Linked DNA regions of Homo sapiens: region 2 is linked to region 1. Evidence: promoter capture Hi-C in 16 types of primary human blood cells and fetal thymus (Javierre and others, 2016). All regions are on one chromosome and are shown on one strand. Each heading gives the region's core, a stretch centred on a gene start or on the middle of the fragment in contact. The rest is flanking DNA. Distances are from core to core; before and after follow the strand shown. Region 1 holds the start of DDX3X (DEAD-box helicase 3 X-linked). Region 2 overlaps KDM6A (lysine demethylase 6A).

The links. Contacts are between HindIII fragments. The CHiCAGO score rates a contact against its expected background, and 5 or more counts as called.
Region 2: a contact is called between a fragment that was not itself captured here and the fragment with the promoter of DDX3X in region 1, in 1 of 17 cell types (fetal thymus). The highest score is 9.2, in fetal thymus.

The regions. Positions count from the first base shown.
Region 1 is chrX:41,331,315-41,335,721 of GRCh38, forward strand. DDX3X (DEAD-box helicase 3 X-linked) reads left to right here and starts at 2,848. Exons shown (of 17, transcript NM_001356.5): 1 at 2,848-2,983. The coding sequence starts at 2,939. RefSeq lists a silencer at 1,669-2,158 and an enhancer at 2,249-2,478. The HindIII fragment of the contact is 5,677 bases long and covers 77-4,407 here.
Region 2 is chrX:44,873,939-44,878,270 of GRCh38, forward strand. It overlaps KDM6A (lysine demethylase 6A), which reads left to right. Exons shown (of 30, transcript NM_001291415.2): 2 at 1-49. Among named protein-coding and RNA genes, the nearest start is that of KDM6A, 2.9 kb to the left of the region's middle. RefSeq lists silencers at 1-19, 60-139, 150-249. The HindIII fragment of the contact is 1,114 bases long and covers 990-2,103 here.

The DNA of each region.
Region 1 (4,407 bases), core at 1,598-4,097:
TGAAAGTTGGCTCATTTATTTAGCTGCCTCAAGTGTGCACATCATTCTTTTTCAAAGTGAATGTGTTTAAAGACAAAGCTTTGTATGTTTTCCCGCTTCCTCTCCAATTGGATATTCCAATTATAACGTATTGATTAACAAAATACCCTGGTGGTTTGAACCAAGTATGCCTATGAGCAGGGGTTAATTGAAAATAGGGAACTGCTGTATATTTCAATTCTTTTAGGTACTCCCATGGCGGTACCCTGTACTCGGCTCTACTCAAAAGTAAAACAAAGCCCAGAACCAGGGTAGTCAGTGCATCCCATTGTTGCTATATGCAGTTTGAAGAGCTGTCGGAACTCACAGTTTTCGAACCTGACTCATGTTTACCCTGGTTCATAGGAAAACGAAACTGAAACAAAACCGAGGTCCTTCACCAAAACTCCATGAGAATCCACGAATCTCAGGGCAGGAAGGGACCCTAATATCATTAAACCTAGTGGCTCTCCAAGGGGCATTGTAGAAATCTGTGTATTTCTGGTTGTCACAATGACTGGCGAGAGCTACTGGCATTTAGTGGGCAGGAGCCAGGCACGCTAGGATGTTCTATGATGCTGGTCAGTCCCACAGAGCGAATAATTGAATCACTGGACACATGTCGGTGAAAAACTAGTTCATTATCATCTAAGCCTAGAACTAACACTGTTTTACATATGAACACAAAGTATCTTTGCCCAGTTTCCATATATCCTGAATTTTCCACAAATGCAGGTACTGTTTCAATTGAAGGAAGATTGTACTGTTTTATTTAAAAATTATTAATAGTTCATCATTTTGGAAAATGAGGTTCCTAGTAGCAATGCTGCTCATGGAACTTGAGTTGTGAAATCAACACACCTTTCCAGTTTGCATTTGTGGCTCTACTGGGCAAGTGTCTTCCCACCAGTTAGTGTAGCTGTGCGGCGGCATTTACATATTATAATACATTGTTTTATTATAATCATTTTGCTTTCGTTTGTTGACAGATCATGTTTTTTGAAATTGTGTTTGTAGGTTTACATAAACAATTTAGGTTTTGTTATTTCAGTATAGGTAAAGGGGGCGTTAGAAAATACTCGTTATGAAAAGGAGTTGGGTCTTTCACAGGGTTATGGAATGTAGCAGACTCCTTTTATAGATGAGCAAATTGAGACCCAAAGCCGTTAAACAACTTGCCCCCGACAGTGTGATATTCTCTCCCTATCTCGTTCGAATTTCCGTCTCGATTTTAAAAATTGAGAAGGGAGAGAAGTTATGTGTATAGTAAATTATGTGATGAGCACGAACTATTTGAATTCTGGCAGCAGAAGACCTTTTGTGGGGGTGGTGGAAACCACTGCGTTTTATTTAATTTCGTAGGGCTGAGGGTCAGAAGAGAGGGGAAAGCGGTCATAAGAAACTACGGATGTGCGGGCGCCGGCTCAAAGCCGGGAATCCACTAGTAAACACCTTCTTCTATTTAAGGGCCTGCGGCACCGAAGCCGGGACTTGGGGTGGCCTGCCTAGGAGGGAACCACAGGAAGAGGTTCCACCGACGGTAGAAACCCGGTTCCTCCTGTTCCTCATCCACCGCAGCGGCCTGAGAGTCACCCCGAGCCCAGGCCGGTAACCCCGCTGCAGCCCCTCCGGCAGGCCCAGGTTGCACCGGCTACAAACATTCCCGACACCCTTGGGCCCTAGAAGAGCCGTTCGCCACCCGCGGGGTCCCCGCAACGCCGGTGGTCACCGGCCCTAAGCCGCTGGGCGCCCCGCGGGAGGAAACTAGGGGCAAATGTAGCCCGCATTCCTGCGGAGAGCCGGGGTCCCGGGAGGGCGCGCCAGCGGCGGTTCCGGATCAGCGCGTGTCTGTCTCATTGTTCCCTCACCGCGGGGGGCGGGGGCGGAGGCGCGCGCGCACACGTCGGGGGGTTGGCCAGGAGGGGCCATTGTGTGTTTCTAGGCGGCGCCCCCGCTGCCTAGGCAACCGCGCAGGAAGGTGTCCGGCCACCTGCGCGCGCCGCCGGCTCCCCTCCATTTCCCCCCGACTCCCGCCCCGGTCACCATCCTACCCTCCTCCCTCCTCCTTTCCCCTTACTCCGCTCCCCTCTTTTCCCTCCCTCTCCTCCCCTTCCCTCTGTTCTCTCCTCCTCTTCCCCTCCCCTCCCCCGTCCGGAGCACTCTATATTCAAGCCACCGTTTCCTGCTTCACAAAATGGCCACCGCACGCGACACCTACGGTCACGTGGCCTGCCGCCCTCTCAGTTTCGGGAATCTGCCTAGCTCCCACTAAGGGGAGGCTACCCGCGGAAGAGCGAGGGCAGATTAGACCGGAGAAATCCCACCACATCTCCAAGCCCGGGAACTGAGAGAGGAAGAAGAGTGAAGGCCAGTGTTAGGAAAAAAAAAACAAAAACAAAAAAAACGAAAAACGAAAGCTGAGTGCATAGAGTTGGAAAGGGGAGCGAATGCGTAAGGTTGGAAAGGGGGGCGAAGAGGCCTAGGTTAACATTTTCAGGCGTCTTAGCCGGTGGAAAGCGGGAGACGCAAGTTCTCGCGAGATCTCGAGAACTCCGAGGCTGAGACTAGGGTTTTAGCGGAGAGCACGGGAAGTGTAGCTCGAGAGAACTGGGACAGCATTTCGCACCCTAAGCTCCAAGGCAGGACTGCTAGGGGCGACAGGACTAAGTAGGAAATCCCTTGAGCTTAGACCTGAGGGAGCGCGCAGTAGCCGGGCAGAAGTCGCCGCGACAGGGAATTGCGGTGTGAGAGGGAGGGCACACGTTGTACGTGCTGACGTAGCCGGCTTTCCAGCGGGTATATTAGATCCGTGGCCGCGCGGTGCGCTCCAGAGCCGCAGTTCTCCCGTGAGAGGGCCTTCGCGGTGGAACAAACACTCGCTTAGCAGCGGAAGACTCCGAGTTCTCGGTACTCTTCAGGGATGAGTCATGTGGCAGTGGAAAATGCGCTCGGGCTGGACCAGCAGGTGAGCCGCAAGAACCCCACCGGGCTGGCTGCTGCGTGAATTCCTCCCCTGACCTAACCTGGCTAATGGCGCAGCGCTAACCGGCACCCTTACTTTTCATTTTCTGGGTGCCCCGGGCTGGCGGGTGTGAGTGCCCCGGGGCTATAGAGGGATAGGAATGTTGGTTGGGGCTGTCGCCCGGGCCCGGTCTCGGCCCGCTGTATTGTCCCCGGGACGAGCACAATGGCGGCTTTTGTGTGTGCGTGCGCAGGCGGGCGGAGGGGGAGGAAGTGCGCGCGCTCTCGCGGGGACGCGCATGCGCGAATCCCGACTGATTAGTGACCTGGGGGGGTTTGCGGGAGTGCGCAGCGCGGCGGGACGCGACTGGAGGCCCTTTTGGCTTGGAGGGCTTCGGCCTTCACGGCTGGCGCAGCCTGGATTCCCGTCCGGAGGACCTGGCGGCACCCGGTGTTTGCGTGCCTGCGAGCAAGGGGTAGAACGCGGCCCAGGAATGTGGGAGGGGGCGGCCTTCGCTCGGGGTAATGGCGGCGGCCTCTTTTGTGTGGTGCTGGGCGGCGCTGTGGCTCACCTCCGGGAGACGGCGGGTCTCGGGCGGGCGAAGGCCTGGAAAGGAGGATGGAATGGGTTTCTTGTTTTTTCCCGGGTTCCTTCCGCTGGCTTTTTCGCTTCAGCCCAGGTTCCGCAGGGTCCGGGGGCCCTGCGCCGCAGCCGGGGAGGCTGCGTTTCCGGAGTGGAAAGTTTTGTGACGCAGAAGATTGGGGAGGAGTGGGGGAGGGGTGGGGGCGGGGAGGGGAGGCAGGAATTGGCCGCTGCGCGCTGGGCCCTGGAGATAGAGGTTGGACGTGGCGGGGAGGTTAGGGAGCCAGCGAGGCCCTTTCTCCTCCTTGCTTGCCCCAGATTGTCCCTGTGTGGTATGTTAGCCGGGAGTCCCGCGTTGTTTTTCTGGGGTGGAGGGGTCATCGCGGGTTGTGGTAGTGTCTTCGTGTTAGTGACTGTGATCCAGGAATCCGCCATTGGAAAAACACCCGGCTTAGGGGGGAAGTAAACAGTTTTGTTGTTGACTTGTTGCTATCTGTGGAGTAGAATCTTGCAATGGGTCCCAGGCCCCCGGGTTTTTTCTCTTAGCCAGAATCCCCTCTTCTAAGGGTTTAGGGGCAGAGGAGAGAAAGATGTGTGATTTGAGAGGAGAAGGTTATGGACTTTGGTGGCAGGAAGTCTGCATCCCACCGCAACAGTGGCACCAGGCTTCAGATAAGCTCTTGTGTGGGTTATGCGGAGCTTTTAAATAAACTACTGTCTACTGTGATTAGGGGAGCGTTGATTTCACAAACTCCGGAATAATCCTGAGACGAAGTTTAGTGGCACAAATTAATTGAATACATAGTTTAATGTAGTCATATGTAATATTTTTTAGGAATTGATCT
Region 2 (4,332 bases), core at 297-2,796, 3.5 Mb after region 1:
CGTGAGATTTCATGAAGATGGCGCCAGGACGAAGGCCCTACTGGGCAAGGTAAGGCAGCTGCGAGTCGGAGCGCGGACACCGTCTCCCTGGCCGGCGCCGCGCTCGCCCCGGGCCCCGCGGCCGGGTCTGTGCTCATTGTGGCCACGGACGATGGTCGAGGGGCTTCCGGAAACTATTTCCTGCCTCTGCTCTCCCCCCACCCCCGGGTACCCTGCTTGCTCCCTTGCGAAATCGCTCTTTTCCTCTTGTAGCTGGAGGAACAGAGACGGGATCGCTTTGGGGCCGGGCTCAACTGGGTCGACACAACTGCCTGCTATTTTACAGCTTTTTGAGGGTAGGCCGATGATCTTCGAGGTGCCTGTTTAGGGTCAAGGGATCGTGAGTGTGTTCAGATTTTCCCAAATTTCGGACTTAACTTGCCTCTACGGGTTTAAAAAAATTCTTTTCCTTCAAGCAGGCTGTTCGTGATGCCTACTGCTAACCAAATGTTTTAGGCTTTCTTGTGTCCCCGCTCCCAGAAGGGGGAAGTTTCACGGAGTTTAGGTCGGTGAAGAGTTTGCATTGGGCTGTTGACATGTATCTCGATTGCAGTGTGTGTTACCTGAAGTTAGGTGACTTGTTTACTTTTTGGGTCTTTTTGGCATAGAAATACCGTAGTTATTTGTAAACGTGTTCTCTTCCTGGAGCCTCATTTCCTGTGTGTCTGACAGGGGAGGCTGGGGAGGATTCGGGGTGTAGTCTTTTTTTATTTGTGTGGAAAGTTGTTGGCACTGTCATTTAGTTAAGTAATGGCTGCTCCTATCGGCCCAAGATGGCGGGACAGGGTGGGAGGAGAAAGTGAAGGGGGGGGTTAGGGGGAGGGTGTAGAGGTAAACATGGAAATAAATAGTAGCCGTGAATAAGCCTTTCCTTCGGAGTGTGTAGCTCAGTGGTGTTTAAAAAAAATTACCCAAGATTATTTGCATATAGAATTCTTATACCTTTCATAAGCTTGGAAGCAGCATGCATAAGCCTGGTAAATGCTTATCAACCTGTAGCACATTTAGTTATCCATCTGTAAGCTATTGAACAAAGGCTGGAGTCTCAATCTGTATGCATCAGTTTATATTTCCTGACCAAAATCTGATTGCAATGGTATTTGAATACTTTCTTCGTAATTGGGACCGTGAAAGTTGGAGTGTGTGCTATGGGTGTTGTATCCGTTAGACATTTTCTTTTCTAGCTGAAATCATAGCTTTGCATTTGACACCTAGCTTTATTGTTGCAGTTGAGACGCAAGTTTGAAATAAGTCTAACATTTTATTCTTAAGTTGATTTTTTTGTTGTTCTGAATTTTTGTCTGTAGCTTGGTTTCGCAGAGTCATCAATTCCTTTTTATCTGTAATTACACATTTGTTTTTATTTCAAAGTAATTATAAGGTGTTATATTGCATATAATCAGAAAACTAAATGGAAATAATGCTTTTCAGTAAGCCCGGCCCCTTTGACCGATACAGAAAACTTGAATTAAACTTTGACTACGTAGGTATTAATTGGCTTCATTACAATTATTGCTGTAAAAATGAACAGTGACTAGCTCTGGAAAGATTTAAGCGTCAGTAATTGTTGGTCTCCTGCCTTAAAGTTTTTTTTTTTTTTTCCAATTTGAGTATTTAAAGTATTTTATTTAAAAATATTTGACTGCTGTCAAAGTTGTCATTATAAAAGATTAAACATGATTTAAATTAAAAGAGCATTATTTTGTTTTGGAGGGATTATTGTTGGTCTAACATGGGTTAATAAAATTGCTTGCAAAGATAATTCACGTGGAAAAGTTTGGCCAAATCGATTGCTTTTGGTTATGGTGATGAAAAAATAAATGGAATCTGATGTTTTATGTTGAGAATGTGTAAAATGCTAGTTGATTTTATGTCTTAGAATGCTCATATTCATATAGATTCACTGCGAATAGTGCTTAACATTGGATTTCGGATTGTAATATTAAACCCTGCAGTTATGCACTAACGAGTTTAAATTTTAAAAAAGTAACCATTTTCAAATATTCTTGGCAAGTTGTGCATTACTTGATGTTTGAATACATCTTAAAAATGAAAAACTAGTGAAGCTTCACTATGTTTGGGGCCTTCATGATATATGGGGTAATTTGATGAACGATTAAGCAGTTTGTTAAACTAAAGAAAAAAAAATCTTCACTGCTTCAGACTCAGTGCTTGTGAGGTGTCCTACCTGCTTAGGACAAGATTCATCAGCCTTAACATTAAAATAAAACCTTCTGTAATATGTGCTTGCAACCGCATATAGTTCTTGGTTGCATCTTTGTGAGCCTGAACATACCAGTGGGGTGTGTAATGTAAAGCCTGACATTATATAACTTCGCACCCTCTGTTTGAATTGGGTTCTGAATGAAGTGAATGAGCTGGAGTCCTGCTGTAGGAAGTCTTGAATTATTTAGTTTCATCCTTCTTTTAACAGTCCTCGAAGCAGTATTTTTTTGTTTTTTATTTTTATTTTTTGTGGAATGTTGAGCTATGTTGGTTTCAGAATTCTTATTCCCTGAAAGTCTTAAGAGTTGGCTTTCCTTTACTGGGCAGGTTTAGGCTACTTACCTGAGGGCAGATAATGGAATTGAATAACTCCCAGAATTCCCTTTTTAGCTTTGATTTTTGTCCTGCCATGCCCCCCCACCCCCAACCCCCCGGCCCCAATTTAGTCTGCACTTTGTATAACGTTTTCCTTTCTGGCAGAAATTTAGCTATTACTACTTGTTTTCAAAAATTCTTATTCCTATGTATATTATTGGATTTTCTTTCAAGTTTTTAAAATTCACATTTGTATGTTAAAAAAAACTCTTGACCTAAAAGCTTTAGAAAGTTGAAAGCATTAAATATGTCTCTTACTTGTCCCTTAACATATGTACGTATACATATATACACACGTGTACATATACATATATACACACGTATACATATACGTATACACACATATACATATACGCATATACACACGTATACGTATATACGCACGTATATGAATACGTATATACACGTATACGCATACGTATATACACACGTATACGTGTATACATATATACATGTATATACATACGTATGTATATGCGTATACACATATATGTATATATATGCATATGCGTATGTATACGTATGTACATATCTATATGTGTATTCCTTTTCCAGGTGTGCAGTTTATTCAAACCACTGATTTCTCATCGTCTCCCGAATGTTTTTGTCAGATTCAGTTATATTAGAGTCATTGAAAGAATTTTTTGTTTGTAGGATGGCCATTTGATATACAATGCCTGGGGTTTTGGATTAAAAAAATAAGGTAGTTAATACAATGTATTATTTTTTGGTAATGTCTTTAAGGTTGTAAACAGCTAGAGCCTGCGTAATTAGAGTTCTTGTGATATAGGGTGATCTTGAACAGTGCTCTTGAATGCTGACCCTTAATCTTCTGGTAATGTAATAATTCAAGATTCTTATTTTTAAAATTTCAGTGGAGTTATCGAAAACTAAGCAAAATATTTTAACAGAAATTAACTTGTGACTTTTTTAGTACATTTTTGAAAACCTTTTGGGTTTTTTTTTTTTTAAGTAGGGTAAGGATTTGAGTTAAAGTAGAATATATACGAATATATACCATAAATGTAGTAAGTTTAAATATAGTAGTACTACCAAGTATAGTTATAGTAATAATGCTAGGGGACTGGGGAATCTTATCTGCGTCAGGGAACTATTGCTAAAATACACAGTTTTGAACAAAGTATCTTATTTTTAAGTTTTTCTTAAATACTCTTATTGGAAATTTTTTTGGTAATTCTATTAGTAGAAAGATTATACAAAATACTTAGAAGTTATAGATTGTATATCACTTAAAAATGTATGTGCTTTTTTCCGTAGGACATATTAGCATTAAAACAGTTGGTGTTTTAAATTTTTTTGATAATAGAAGTAGTTTAAGATCCATTGAAACATATTTTCTTAAATTTGGTTTGCTGGCGTGTTTGGTAGGGGAAATTATTAGGTCAGTTCTAGAGGTGGCTTTTTTAAATTGTAATATTTGGATGTTGATTAAAAACATTCTCATTTATGTGTGTTTTTTGTTTGCTGGCACTTAAAGGCATACAGGTTGAGTATCCTTTATCCAAAATGCTTGGAACCAGATGTGTTTTGGATTTGGGATTTTTTTGGGTTTCAGAATATTTGCAGAATACATACCAGTTGAGCATCCCTAATCTGAAAATCTGAATTCCAAAATGCTCCAATGAGCATTTCCTTTGAGTGTCATGTTGGTACCCAAAAAGTTTTAGATTT